Regions from separate parts of the Homo sapiens genome. Here all the other regions are linked to region 1. The links are contacts of gene promoters, found by promoter capture Hi-C in human tissues and cell types (Jung and others, 2019). All regions are on one chromosome and are shown on one strand. The core of a region is centred on a gene start or on the middle of the fragment in contact, and the rest is flanking DNA. Distances in the headings are between cores, read along the strand shown.

Region 1 (2,705 bases), core at 62-2,561:
GAGCTGCCTGGCTTCCTCCCCGGCCGGCCGCCAGCCCCAGCCCCGTCCGTCTCCACAGGCTCTCAGCCTGCGAGGGCCTCAGGGCCACCCCGCTACTCCCTCCCCCGAGGTAGGCAAGCACTTCATCCTCTGGGCGAATGGATCAGCCCCAGGATCAGTGCGGATACACTAAGGTTCTGCAGAGAGGCCACGGGCCTCAGTCAGGAAAGTGGAGGAGGGAGGGCTCCAACTGGGTTTTGGGTCTGAGTGCGAAGGAAGGCTGAGCTGGGGTCAAAGGTCCCCGTACTGAGAACTGGGGACCAAGAGCCATCAGCTCCTGTGCTGCCTCTGTGCGCAGCATTTAACATCTTGATAAAACACATAAAGAAGAAACTTATACATTGCAGCAGGCTCTGCGATTTCCAGGAGGAGAAGGCAAATGAGTTGACCCGCGGCAGTGGTCTCTGGAGCCTCTTCCCACCTGAGGGTCCCAAAGCATGTTCTCTCCCTCTCCGGGAGGGTCAAAGCCCAGGCCCTTCCCATCCTCCCTCCTTTTCTCTCGGTGCTGAGGGTTACAGCAGGGGGGGCTCAGCTAAGTCCGGCTACGGTAAGTGCTGGGCAGGGCAGGGCGGGGGGATCACCCTCTCAGGGTGGGAGACCATGGGGCCAGCGGGAGACCATGGGGCCAGCGGGGATGCTGGGTGTTTTGACTTGCAGCTTTCCTGGACGCCTGTGCAGGCAGAGTCAGAATGGAGTCCATGTCGTTCCTTCAGTGAAGTGGCTGGTGGTAGAAGGGTGGCAGGCAGGCAGGGTGGCTGCTCCCTGGCTATGTCTCCTGACTCAAGACTGGGCATTCCTGGCTGGCCTGGCCAAGGCTCTCTCTGCCCACATTGCAGTCTGGGCTCAGCCTGCCCCACCCCCTCCCCTCGTCCAATGCCCAACCCAGGCCTCCCCCCACTCCTCCCCCTTTCCCCCTCCCCTCTCCCCGGCCTTTCCCGGCTGAATCCCCTGCACACAGGCTTCTTTCCATTTGGGCATCTCTTGGGAGGACCCCAAGTGACACTATCATGTCCCAAATACTTGTCACCAAATGATAAAGATCCAAACAGCTTTTTCAGGGGAATTAAGACTAGTCTGGGCACTCAGGGCTCCTCTGGCTCCTGGAAAAAGCCTCATCTACAAATCCACCATGGACCGAGTCAAGAAAGACACAGCACAGGCACAACAGACAGGTAAGCCAGATGCCTACCTGAGGGCTCCACACGATGGAGGGCGAGGACCAGGACCAGGCCCTGGAGCAGTGGGACGCAGCCTGCCATTCCCACCCGGAGCGCTGGGACAGGGCTACAAACACAGCCAAAGTCCAGGCTGGGGGAGGTGCCGGCAGCAGGAGCCTCGGGGCACGACCTGTGCAGCTGTGTGCTTCCCTCCTGACGTTTTCTGTTTGAGGCCAGGCAGAGAAATGAACGGTGAAGGCTCAGAGGACCCTGGGAGATATTTAGGGAGACAGAGAACAGAAGGTAAAGGCAGCAGGTGCAAGGTGGAAGGTGGCACCCATGCCCGTGTGTGGTCAATGGAGGTGAGATAGGCCCTGGGGACACAGCACTGGGCGGGACAGACAAAGTCACATGCAGCTTACGTTCTAGGTGTGTGTGGAATACACAGAAAAGAACGAGGGAAAGAGACAGGAGGGAGTGAGGGAGGGAAAGCAGGAGGATGGAAAGAAGGAAGGGGAGAAAAGGAAGGGAGGGAGGGAGGAGGGAGAAAGCGGGGAAGGGCCAAATAGTGTCTGTCACTACAGCTCAGCACCATTGTAGCAGAGGCAGCATAGACAATCATGAATGAACACTTGGCTGTGTGCCAATAAAGCTTTATTTATAAGAGCTATTAAGGGGCCAGATTTGGCCCCAGGGTTGTCGTTTGCTGCTTTCAGATGTAGGCCCTGTGTATTAGTCCCTTCTTACACTGTTATGAAGAAATAGCCAAGACTGGGTAATTTAAGAAAAGAGGTTTAGTTGACTCCCAGTTCCACATGGCTGGGGAGGCCTCAGGAAACTTATAATTATGGCAGAAGGCACCTCTTCACAGGGTGGCAGCAGAGAGAATGACTGAAGCAGGGGAAATGCCAGATCCTTATAAAACCATCAAATCTCTTGAGACTCACTCACTATCCCAAGAATAGCATGGTGGAAACCACCCCCATGATTCAATTACCTCCCACCGGGTCCCTCCCAGGACACGTGGGGACTATGGGGATTACAATTCAAGATAAGATTTCGGTGGGGACACAGCCAAACCATATCAGCCCTTGAAGCCTGAGGTAAGAACCTGGTGTTTCATTTTCACTGTGTTGGGAAGATATTGGAGGGAACAGGAATTGACATGGAAAGATTTGTGCTCTGAAGGGATCACTGGGCTGCTGTGTGGAGAACAGAACATTCCAGAGAAGTCAAAAGGGAGGCTGCCGGCTAGTCCAGGAGGGGGTGAGGGTGCAGCCATGCAGCAGGAAGCACGTTTGCAGTCTGGATGCTTCAGGAAGGGAAAGCTGATGGGATTCATGATGAATTGTGTCGGGCAGCACGGCTCCAAGGTTTGGGCTGAGCGATTGGGAGGATGGCAGTGCGTGTGCTGAGACGGCCAAGCTCCAGGAGGGCAGAGGGAAGCGAGGTTTGGCAAATTTGAGGTGTCTGTGGGATGTCCAGGTGGAGACAGGAGTGGGCATCCGA
Region 2 (2,705 bases), core at 107-2,606, 470 kb after region 1:
CAAAAAAATAAAATTAGCTGGGCATGGTGGCCCACACCTGTAGTCCCAGCTACTCAGGAAGCTGAGGTAGGAGGACTGCTTGAGCCCGGGAGGTTGAGGCTGCAATGAGTTCCCATCATGCCACTGCACTGCAGCCTGGGTGACAGAGTGAGACTGTCTCAAATAATAATACTAATAAAATAGCACTTCCCAGGCAGCCTTTCTCCAGACATTTTGACTCAGTTGGTTTGGAGTGGGGTCCAAGCTTTTGTAAAAGCTCCCAGTGTAGCAGGTTTCTGAGTCGTTCATCTCAATGTCTGTCTCCCACCTGAACGTGAACCTGTTGGATGATCAGTTATCATCAGTTATCGACCTTTCTCTCCTCAGGCATAGCGTGGTGCTCAGCAGATGCTGAAAGAATTAGTTAACCTGCTATTTTAGCTGACGAGCACTAACAAAATGAAGAGCATAAGGCGTGAGCACTCGCAGAGTGAAAAGTGCCCCGTGCAAGGCCATCTATCCCGCATGACTCCTGTCACCGGGAAGGAGAGCTATGGAGAGTGAGGTCCTGCTCAAACGCCCCCTGAGATCATCTGCCATGCTCTGCCAGGCCATTTGTCCTGGAACGTGACGTAGAACATTGTCTCCTGTTCCGGGAAAGGGCCACATATGCAACATGGCCCTCAAACGCCGAAGGAGCTGAGAAACCAAAGAATAAGCCAGACCAATGAAATCTGTCAGTAAAGGGTGTTTTATTGGGGGAACCTACAGACAGAAGCATGGTCTTGGGTGGCTGGAGGACAGGCAGGTCTCTGCCCCTGTCACCCCAGACCCAGGGCTTCTGTGCCGTAGGGAAGAGGTGTAAGTGCTCTTTGCAAGACAACTAAAGGCAGCCCTTCAGAACAGGCAAGAGTGGTAGATGCGTCATGGCCCATAATTTGTGTGATCACATCAAGGCTGACATGTTCATATACTAGGGACAGGAAATCACATAGGAATTGGGAGGCGCTCAGGGGACTGGCGCCGGTCTGAATTCAGCATGGTGGATCAGCACCCAAGAGGAGTCACTACTGACTGGCCCCACATCTTCCTGTGCCCAGGAGGAGTTTGTGGGGCAGGGCCTCTGATTATTTTTGAAAATCTAGTTTAATTTGGTCATTACATTGGTGTCAAAAATGGAATAAGTTAAATTTCATTGTACTTCTTAATAAAAAAATTTGAATGGCATAAGTGCCAATCTCAAAGCATAACAACATTTAATATTCCAGACAATGCTGGTGTGAGCTCCGCTGAGAAAACTTTCACGGCATCTGGGGATTCCTGTGAGCTCCACTGTGAAAACTTTCACCGCATCCCGGGATTCCTGGACATGCCTGGGTTTAGTTGTCAGGGGATCTCATATTTGTTACTTTCACACCCATCCTGAGACACCATGAGTTCTTGAATTCTGCACCTTTGAGACTTTTGTCTCCTCTGTCACTTGAAGTCTTTTTCTTGTTAAAGTTTCTTCCTTCAGGTGTTCAGATGCAGGTCAGGAGCGAGACTGGATAAGCCGTGGTCTCCAGGTCTTTTCTCCTCGACAATGAGCGATCATTGGCTCCGTTTCACACCTAACGATGGGTAATCATGCAAAGTGGTTGCTTGTCCCAAAGCGAGCCTAATCGGGATTAATTTTGCTTCTCAATGTCCCATTTTTATTTCTCAGTAAGAATACAGGAAAGTATGGTAAGAATTCTTTTCTTATTTATTTTGTACACTCCCTTCTCCTTTGTTTTATTTCTCTAAAGGATCAATGATTTTAATTCCAGTTTTCTTCCAGAAAAAAACAACTAAGTTGTGTAGTGCTTAAAATTACCGATAAAGTAATGAAAGCAATTTGTTGGAATCATCTGTCTGAACAGTAACTTTAATATAGACCATTATAGCTCCTCTCCAACAGAGTAAAGATGATAGGGTATCTGAAATAAGAGGTGGATGATAATTAGAAATTTAGCATTATTCAAAGTAATTCGTACCTTTGGTCAAGCAAGTTGCTTGGATATTACATAACATCACTTTAATGAATGTTCAATTTATGAAAATCAAACTTTTTACTTTTAAAGGTAAAACTAAACTGTTTACTTTCTACAAAACTGAAAACTCACCCCTTTGCTTTTTTTTTTTTTTTTTTTTTTTTTGAGAGAGAGTCTTGCTCTGTTCCCAGGATGGGGTGCAATGATGCGATCTCGGCTCACTGCAATCTCTGCCTCCCAGGTTCAAGCAATTTTCCTGCCTCAGCCTCCCGAGTAGCTGGGATTACAGGCGCCCACCACCACACCTGGCTAATTTTTGTATTTTTAGTAGAGACAGGGTTTTACCGTGTTGGCCAGGCTGGTCTTGAATTCCTAACCTCGTGATCCACGTGCCTCGGCCTCCCAAAGTGCTGGGATTACAGGTGTGAGCCACCGCGCCTGGCCACCCCTTTACTTTTTTAAAGAGAAAGATAAAATGGTTTCCCTTAAAATATTTTTCATCTATTGTAACTTATAAGAATACTTAAATATTCTTAGATAACTGGAAATTATCTCAGTCTACTCAAAAAGCCAAAAAAGTATGAAAAAAAATGGTTTTGAATATATGCTGCTCAGTGAAGCCAGACTCAAGGGGCAAATATTGTAAGATTACACTGATATGAGATCCCCAGAGATATAAAATCCATAGAGACAGAAAGTATAATAGAATGGGGC
Region 3 (2,705 bases), core at 93-2,592, 320 kb before region 1:
TTTTCCTTTCCAATTTTGAATTGACAGTAAATGCCAGGTTCAGTTCATTCGTGTTATTTCATAATACTGTATATTAAACGTAGAATTTCTTATGCTGCTCTGTTAAAAACTAAGATGTCATTTTGGTTTTTGCTTGTAACATTTTTCTATTCTACCTACAGGATTGGGATAAAGGCTTCATTAATAACTTAAGGTGTTTCTCGCTTATCAGATAAGTTATAAAAGTAAATGAAAGGGCCTAATGTAACTGTCTCTTAATCATTAAGCTTACTGAACTACAGTCATGCACTACATAATGACATTTCGGTCAACAGTGGACCGCTTATACAACAGTGGTCCCGTAAGGTTAGAATGGGGCTAAAAAATTCCTACATCCCAGCCATCATAGTGTCATAGCACAATACATTGCCTGTGTGTGGTGATGCTGGCACAGACAAACCTACTGCACTGCCAGTCGTATAAAAAGCATAGCGCATCCAGTTATGTGCAGTATATAATACTTGATAATATAAAGGCTTATGTTACTAGCTTATTTACTCAACTTTTTATTATTTTCGAGTGTACTCCTACTTGTTTGTTTGTTTGTTTGTTTTTTGAGATGGAGTCTTACTCTGTCACCCAGGATGGAGTGCAGTGGCACGATCTTGGCTCACAGCAAACTCCGTCTCCTGAGTTCAAGCGATTCTCATGCCTCATGCCCGGCTAATTTTTGTATTTTTAGTAGAGACGGGATTTCACCATATTGGCCAGGCTGGTTTTGAACTCCTGACTTCAGGGGACACACCACCTTGCCTCATCAGCCTCCCAAAGTGCTGGGATTACAGGCGGGAGCCACCGTGCCTGGCCCAGATGGATTTTTAAATATCACCTGTTCATATTGTTTAAAATAGATACAACTAAAACAGCTTTGAGGCATACAGGAACTCTACAGATAAGGAGGACCATTTCATAATGATAAAGGGCTTATCTCACCAAGAAGGCAGTCACACTTACGTTTTTATGTATTTGTTGAAGAGTCCCAATGTATTTAAAGCAAAAATAAGCAACTACAAAGAGAAAGATACAAATCCATGATCAAAGTGAGGAATTTTCACACACATCGTAGTAACTGATGGAATGAGTCAATGAAAAATTAGTGAGGAAATAGAAGATTTGGACAGCACAACAAATGGCCTAGGAGAACATTTAGAATGTTGCCTTCGATGCTTAAGAATACATATTCTTTTCAAAAGAAAACACAGAACAGCCTGGCAGGAGAGATACCATCATCATGAAGGTGATTTTCCCAGAGCTGGGCTTATCCATTGCATTCTGGATGTGCTGACGCCTGTGGTTTTCCCAAATGTGGGAAACTGGACTGCATAATTTGTGGTAGTGGGGGACTATGTTCGTGTTCTCTCCTGGTGTTTAAAATTAAAAAAAAAAAAACTTTATTAAAGGCACAGAACATTAATAAAAATTGACAATAAACTGGGCTATTAAGTAAATTGCAACAATTTCCAGAGGTTTGAAATGATACAGAGTATGTTTTCTGACCACAGTACAGTTAAACTAGGAATATAACAAAAAGATAACTAGGGATATGTGTGGATATTGCATACCTCTAAGTAACCCTTGGGATGAGAAAGAAATTACAATGGAAATTAGAAAATATCTTGAATAATGAAAATACAATATATGTAAGCTTGTAGAATTCAGCTTATTAAATGCATATTTTAGAAAGAAGGAAAGGCTGAAAATCAGTGAGCAAAGCCTTCCATCTCAAGAAATAGAAAAAGAATATAGAAGGAAGGAATTAATATTTTTAAAGAAGCACTAATTTACAAGAATAATTAAATAGAAAAGAAGTTGTCATTAGGAAGGATCAATAAAGCTAGAAGCTTGTTATTTGAAAAGACTTGTAAATGTGGTAAATCACAAGTAACGTACGTAGATGAAAAGGGGGACGAGATAATAGGTGCCAGAAGCATTAAAAAAAAAAAAGTCATGTATGAAGAGCTTTATGCCAGTAAATTTGACAACGTATGTGAAAAATGTAATTTACTAAAACTGACACATGAAGAAATAGAACATCTTAATAGTTCTGTAACTCTTAAGAATTTGAGCCTGTAGTTTAAAATCTTCTCAAAGAGACAACTCCTGTTTGGGATGACTTAATTGGCACATCCTACCAAACTCCTAATGAAAAGGAAAATCCCCAATTTTAAACATCCTCTTCCAGAGAAGTAAAGGAAGAAAGATTTCACAATTTGTTTTTAAGGCCAGCAAAAGCTGCATGACAAAACCAAGGAAGAACATTTGAGAATGGAAAATTATAGGCCACTCTCAGCTGTAAGACTCAGAAGATGCATAAGATGATTATAAGATGCAAAAATCCTACACACAGTATCAGGAAACTGACCAGTCATTAGCAAAAAACCCAAGACGATAAGCCCAGGATGATACATCATGACAGAGTTGGTTATATCCAGGAATGCAAGATCCGTTTAATGTTACAGAGTCAATCGGTGTAATTAATTTACCATGGTTAACAACAGGAAAAAAAGGATCATCCCAGTGCATAAGATGGGTTTGATCAAATTCAATGTTTCTTCATTTAAAAAAAAAAAAAAAAACTCATAGAAAACTAAGAATAAGAGGGGCAGTTCTTAATCTGGCCAAAAGGAAAAAATTCCTATGGAAAACATTATACTTACTGGAATTGT
Region 4 (2,705 bases), core at 116-2,615, 290 kb before region 1:
AAGTAGCTGGGATTACAGGTGCCCACCACCATGCCCGGCTAATTTTTGTATTTTTAGTAGAGACGGGGTTTCATCATATTGGTCAGGCTGGCCTCAAAATCCTGAGCTCAGGGGATCCGCCCGCCTCGGCCTCCCAAAGTGCTGGGATTACAGCCATGAGCCACCGCGCCCGGCCTGCATGCTGGTTTTGAAGTTTGTTTCTGAATCTCAGGATCATGCTAGCTGGCATGACTGTGCTGATGGCTGCCTCCACCAGCAGACAGTGGAGGGTGAGGTGAACTCACTGCTTGAGATCCTCCGTTTTAACAAGTGCTGATATAACGCCAGGCGGTTAAATGCTTCCTACTGTCTCGCTGTACACTACGAGAGTTTTTATCAGACGCATTTCTTCAGTCCAGGTGTAACTCTTTGCTTCCCCTGGGTCTGATGGAAACCAGGCCCCGAGGAAGGAGACGGGAGAGACACAGCCCTGCTGGGCTCCCGGCCTCTGCGGAGAACTGTCCTGGGGTGGGGTCGGGAGATGGACTGTTTTCCTAATTTATTTCAAACCAGGAACCCTGGCTGTGTGCATTCTGCCTCACCCCCCGTCTCCATATTTTTTAATATTCTTTTCATGAGCTAGCAGGGATGATGTAAATACACTGAGCTGACCGAGGGCCGGATGGGAGGTTCTAGTGAAGCCTGCGGTTTGCTGACGACTTTCCCCCTCAGTGCAGTCCAATTATTTGGGAGCCGTTAAACACCGCATGCTGAGAAGACACCGTCATTGTTCACACAGGAGCTAGATAGACTTTGTTCCCTCTACACTGCATTTTTTAAAAGTTTTCTATCAAAAACACATTTCATAATCGAAAAGTTTTCTAAATGATAAAACCGCATGTCACAGATTAATCTCAACATTATGTTGAGTGAAGGAAGCCAGACACCGAAGGCCACACATTGTATTTGAAATGTCCAGGAAAGGCAGAACTGTAGAGACAGCAGATGGGTTGTTGCCCGAGGGGTGAGGGCACGCCCCGCAGCGGGCGGCAGTGACAGGCACGCCTGCACACATCTGCTCCCGCATCACCCCACGCCACACACGGGGAAGTGTGCGCACTCCTTCCAGGGACAGCGAGAGGAGCCCCTGCTCTGTCAACGCTCTGAATGTGCTGCGGCTGCCGGCAGAAGCTAGCAGGCTCCTCTGCTGAGGAGCTGGTGCCTGTCCAGACGCAGAAGAAAACTGACACCTCCCACGTGGGGGACAGAAAGGTCCTCTCATTGGTGCCACCTGCAGAGATAGACAAGGAGCGCCTGGCCATCAGAGGACGCTCCTGACAGTGACACAGTGACCACTATAAAAGTCAGGCGGGCTGAGGAGGAGACAAAGGCCAGGACGCTCCGCAGCTGTTGGGGAAGAGGAGCTGCCTCCTGGGATGGAGAAATTTAAGGCTGCGATGTTGCTGGGGAGCGTCGGCGATGCTCTTGGCTACAGAAATGTCTGCAAGGAGAACAGCACTGTAGGCATGAAGATCCAGGAGGAGCTGCAACGTTCCGGGGGCCTGGACCACCTCGTACTCTCGCCAGGAGAATGGCCCGTGAGTGACAACACCATCATGCACATCGCAACCGCCGAGGCCCTCACCACAGGTAGGCTGGGCCCACCGCGCTCCGGTGTGCGGGCTGGAGGGAACACTGGCTGCTCGAGTTCTCCCAGTAAGCCTCCGAGAGCTTTGAAGGCAGTGCGGTCCTTCAGCGGATGGTGTTACCTGATACCGCTGCTAAAAGTGGCAATTTAATCTGAGTGTCCCTCAAATTTGATATGCGGCAGATCACGTTTCTCCTGTGGTTTCTCTGAGGGTGACAGTATTACTTTACTTTGCAGTTATTAAGATTCAGTTTTTAAACGTGACTTTTCACTTGTATTTGTAAAGCGTTAACTAGGCCTAGCACCTTCTGTTTCTAATAGAGTTAAAGCCAGTGAAGCCTCTCTCGGCCGTGCTGGTGGGAGTAGGGTGAGGGCTCACTTCTCGCTGCAGAGATTAAGCCTTCTTGTTCTGAATTCATTACAAAGGGATGTAAAATAAGCCAGTTTGAAATGTGAACCCATTAATACTGTTTGGGGATTAGTTCTAAATTCCAATGAATTAAAGTTAGAATATCATCTCCCAAAATGGTTCAGCTTGGAGAGTTGCCCATACACAAATGTGTTCTAAGAAAATGACATAAACTTGATTGGACGAGATTGGAGACAAAGCTTCTTAAAATACCTTTAAGTAGCAAATTGATTTTAGGATCAAGCTTTTGCATGAATTTCAGGGAAATGGCAGGTGCACAGACATGCAGTCCAGCTTTCCTACGAGGCATTTGCTCTTCAAAACCCCGTGGGTGCTGTTTATCATGGCAGAATTAAAATCTGAGGGCTGCAGCTAAGTCAATGAAATCTCACTTATGCGTTCACTCCACCATTCTGTTCATCTGCCATGGACGTGCCCAGTTTAGTTCTGTGCTCACAGCAGAGGAATGCCATCGAGCCTGTGGCCGGTCCCTAAATAACGGGAGAGCTGAAGCGCCGGCGATAAGATAAGGCTCCCGGCTTGCTGGAGACGGGGAGGCGTCCGACTGTTCACAGCCTTGGCGTCCAGGAGCTCCTGCTTCTGGTTTTCCAGGCGGCCACTCGTGTGCCCTTAGGACCAGCAACCCCATGCTTGTGCCCCGCAGCCCAG
Region 5 (2,705 bases), core at 53-2,552, 270 kb before region 1:
CGGCACCCACCGCAGAGCCTGCCTCTGGCCAATGGCGCCGTGACAGCAGGCTCGCCCCTCTCCTAGGTGGCTGTGGGCCTCAGACACACCCACAGGGTCCACAGCAGAACCTTCTGAAGCTAACATGGCTCCAAAACAGCAACACAACCTCTCAGCCCCACATGCCCCATCCACAAGAGGGGTGATCACCATGCCCTTCACAGGCTCTCGTGAGGACTGAGTGGCAGATGACACCCTGGGAGCAGTGCCCAGTGGGGCAAGGGCTCGGCAACGGGGGTCACTGCTCCCCTGCATGGCCACTCGCACTGTAACTACTGCCACCACCACAGCTGCTCCCATCGGCAGCACCACACCATCCCTACTGCTGCTGTCGCTAGCAACACTGTCACCGCCACCACTAGTGCCACTGCCACCCCCGCCACTGGTGCCACTGCCACCCCCGCCACTAGTGCCACCCCCGCCTTTTATCACTGCTCCGCTTTTGTCACCAGTACAGCCATCACCACTATGGCTGCTGCTACTGGTCCTGTCACCACTGATATCACCAGTTCCTCCACATGATACCGTCACTAGTACGACAACCACTGCTGCAGTCACTGGCACCACACTGTTCCCACCCTGACCGTCACGAGTACCACCACCATTGTTGCTGCTGCTACTGGTACTGTCACCACGGCCGTCACTAGTCCTCCCACACGACTGCATCTCTGAAACTACATCATGAGTACCATGGCCATCACTTCGCCTCCTGCCACTACTGACCCGCAGCGGCTGCAGTCCCCACGATGGCTAGCAGTGAGAGGAGAGAGCTCATGTCTTTGGAAGAGGCAGCCCCTCCAGGGCTGTCTCCACCCAGACGGTGACCACGGGATTTCCAGGACTGTCCTGCCAGCCCTGGGCATTGTTAGCCTCATTATGGCCAGGATCATCGTAATTCAGATCAGTCTCTTCCGAGCTCCTCTCTGATGGCTTGCACACTAGCGGAATGAGGCCACTGCAATGGTGGATGGGAGCCTAGTGGGGCCAGACGTGGCCATGTTCCCTGAGAGCTGCGCACCCAGTGCCACCTGCTCCGTGAGGTGCAGGGCTGGCTGTGTGGACTGCGGGGTGAGCTCAGTACCCCAGAAGCCGCTGGCTCCATCTTTCCCCACTGCCCTGGAAGATGGACCAGGACAGGCCTCCCGGACTTCTTCCTTAACCGTGTTTTATTAAATACATATATACTCGCATGCATTTATTTTTCAGTAAACAGTTGTAAAATTTGACATACCAAAGAAAATAAGGGAGGCAGTGCCTATAAGATGAGCTCTGAGCTTGTCTGTGCTGATGAGCTTGCTGGCTGCTAATGCACGCCCAGAAGTTAGGCAAGAAAAGCCCCAAGCACCAGCAGGGCGAGTGAGTCGGCCCCGCACAGGAAACGCCTGAGTGTGCACAACGGACCCAGAGCTCTGCGGGGTCGCTCTCAAGTCAGGAGAGCCCCCACCTCAGCCTTCTTCCTGCACAGGCTCGTTAACTGATAATCCCCGGCCACGGATGCTAAAGGTCTACGTGACGCGGTGTTCCCAATAGCCAAAGGCGGAGGCAGCTCATGCATCCACACACAGATGACGGGCAATCAAAATGCGTTCGTCCACGCACGGAATGCGATTCAGCCGCGGAGAGGAAGGGAAGCCGTGGCGAGCCACGCGGGTGAACCTGGGGATGCGTCCTGAGTGGAACACGCCCGCCACAAAGGGACAAATCGCGTGCGGTCCCACGAGGAGCAGGCACCCAGAGCAGTCACATCCGGAGACAGAAAAGTCAACTGGGGGCGGCCAGGGCCTGGGGAGGGCGGTGGGGTGAGTGGAGTGGGGACAGAGCTACAGTTTGGGAAGATGGGGAGTTCCAGGGAGGATGGAGAATGTCCACAGTGTGAACGTGGTTAATGCCGCCGAACTGTGCACCTGAACATGGGAAAGACGGAAAACGAGCAAACCCTTCCTCGGGAGTCCCACGCAGCGTGGCGGGCGGCCCCAGGCCCTCCCAAGCGGCCCAGGTGATGGTGCCCCCTCTCTCTTCCCTGCCCTCCAGGCTTCCTGGGCTCCCTGTGCACGGCCCTGTTTGTGTCGTTCGCCGCACAAGGAAAGCCCCTGGTCCAGTGGGGGAGAGACATGCTGCGGGCGGTGCCTCTGGCAGAAGAGTACTGCAGGAAGACCATCCGGCACACGGCAGGTGAGCCGCTCCCCCGGCCCCAGTCCGCACTCAGAGCAGATCTGGACAGATCCAGCCCCTCCATGGGCCCCCAAATACTTCAAGGCACTTTCGCTCTTAGATGGAACTGGGAGGGCCCTGTCCGGGCCATGTGAGCAGAGCTGGCCTCGCAAGGCAGGCCCCATGCTGCTCCTGACCAGTCTGCCTCTGCCCTGACCTGGGAGGCTTTGCCTCCCCACCCGGAGCCTCAGAGAGACCTGAGCCTGCCGGGGACATTTGCCTCCGGCGGGTCCACCCGTCCCCGTCCACCCCAGCCCGCGGCACCAAGCGACTGGCAGCCACTGGGATGTGAGTGGGACCTGTGGTGCCCCCTGGAAAAACTCTGCTTCTGCCGGTTTGGGCGAGCTCAGGGCTGGGCCCTTCCCTCAGGAGCCCCATGAGGCTGGCCAGAGGCAGGGACAGCAGGTATGGGACTAGGAAATCCGTGACGGTTCCGGAAGATTCTTCCACCCCAC

Evidence for each region. Contacts are between HindIII fragments. The study calls those that stand out against the background at their distance.
Region 2: a fragment that was not itself captured here is called in contact with the fragment with the promoter of PROZ in region 1 in 1 of the 25 tissues and cell types used here (heart left ventricle).
Region 3: a fragment that was not itself captured here is called in contact with the fragment with the promoter of PROZ in region 1 in 5 of the 25 tissues and cell types used here (IMR-90 fibroblasts, aorta, dorsolateral prefrontal cortex and 2 more).
Region 4: a contact is called between the fragment with the promoter of ADPRHL1 here and the fragment with the promoter of PROZ in region 1, in 3 of the 25 tissues and cell types used here (H1 embryonic stem cells, IMR-90 fibroblasts and adrenal gland).
Region 5: a fragment that was not itself captured here is called in contact with the fragment with the promoter of PROZ in region 1 in 2 of the 25 tissues and cell types used here (heart right ventricle and liver).

What each region holds. Positions count from the first base shown.
Region 1 is chr13:113,157,254-113,159,958 of GRCh38, reverse strand. It overlaps PROZ (protein Z, vitamin K dependent plasma glycoprotein), which reads right to left and starts at 1,311. Exons shown (of 8, transcript NM_003891.3): 1 at 1,229-1,311. The coding sequence starts at 1,298. RefSeq lists enhancers at 97-674, 1,251-1,828. The HindIII fragment of the contact is 7,105 bases long and covers 1-2,705 here.
Region 2 is chr13:112,682,506-112,685,210 of GRCh38, reverse strand. It overlaps ATP11AUN (ATP11A upstream neighbor lncRNA), which reads right to left. Exons shown (of 3, transcript NR_164109.1): 3 at 714-1,937. Among named protein-coding and RNA genes, the nearest start is that of ATP11A, 6.2 kb to the left of the region's middle. The HindIII fragment of the contact is 7,909 bases long and covers 1-2,705 here.
Region 3 is chr13:113,477,613-113,480,317 of GRCh38, reverse strand. The region is part of intron 3 of DCUN1D2 (defective in cullin neddylation 1 domain containing 2); the gene reads left to right. It also overlaps the pseudogene RNU1-16P. Among named protein-coding and RNA genes, the nearest start is that of DCUN1D2, 12 kb to the left of the region's middle. The HindIII fragment of the contact is 4,398 bases long and covers 1-2,705 here.
Region 4 is chr13:113,452,148-113,454,852 of GRCh38, reverse strand. It overlaps ADPRHL1 (ADP-ribosylhydrolase like 1), which reads left to right and starts at 1,365. Exons shown (of 8, transcript NM_001394807.1): 1 at 1,365-1,629. The coding sequence starts at 1,416. The HindIII fragment of the contact is 9,965 bases long and covers 1-2,705 here.
Region 5 is chr13:113,428,458-113,431,162 of GRCh38, reverse strand. It overlaps ADPRHL1 (ADP-ribosylhydrolase like 1), which reads left to right. Exons shown (of 8, transcript NM_001394807.1): 4 at 2,071-2,211. Among named protein-coding and RNA genes, the nearest start is that of ADPRHL1, 24 kb to the left of the region's middle. RefSeq lists an enhancer at 1-410. The HindIII fragment of the contact is 8,177 bases long and covers 1-2,705 here.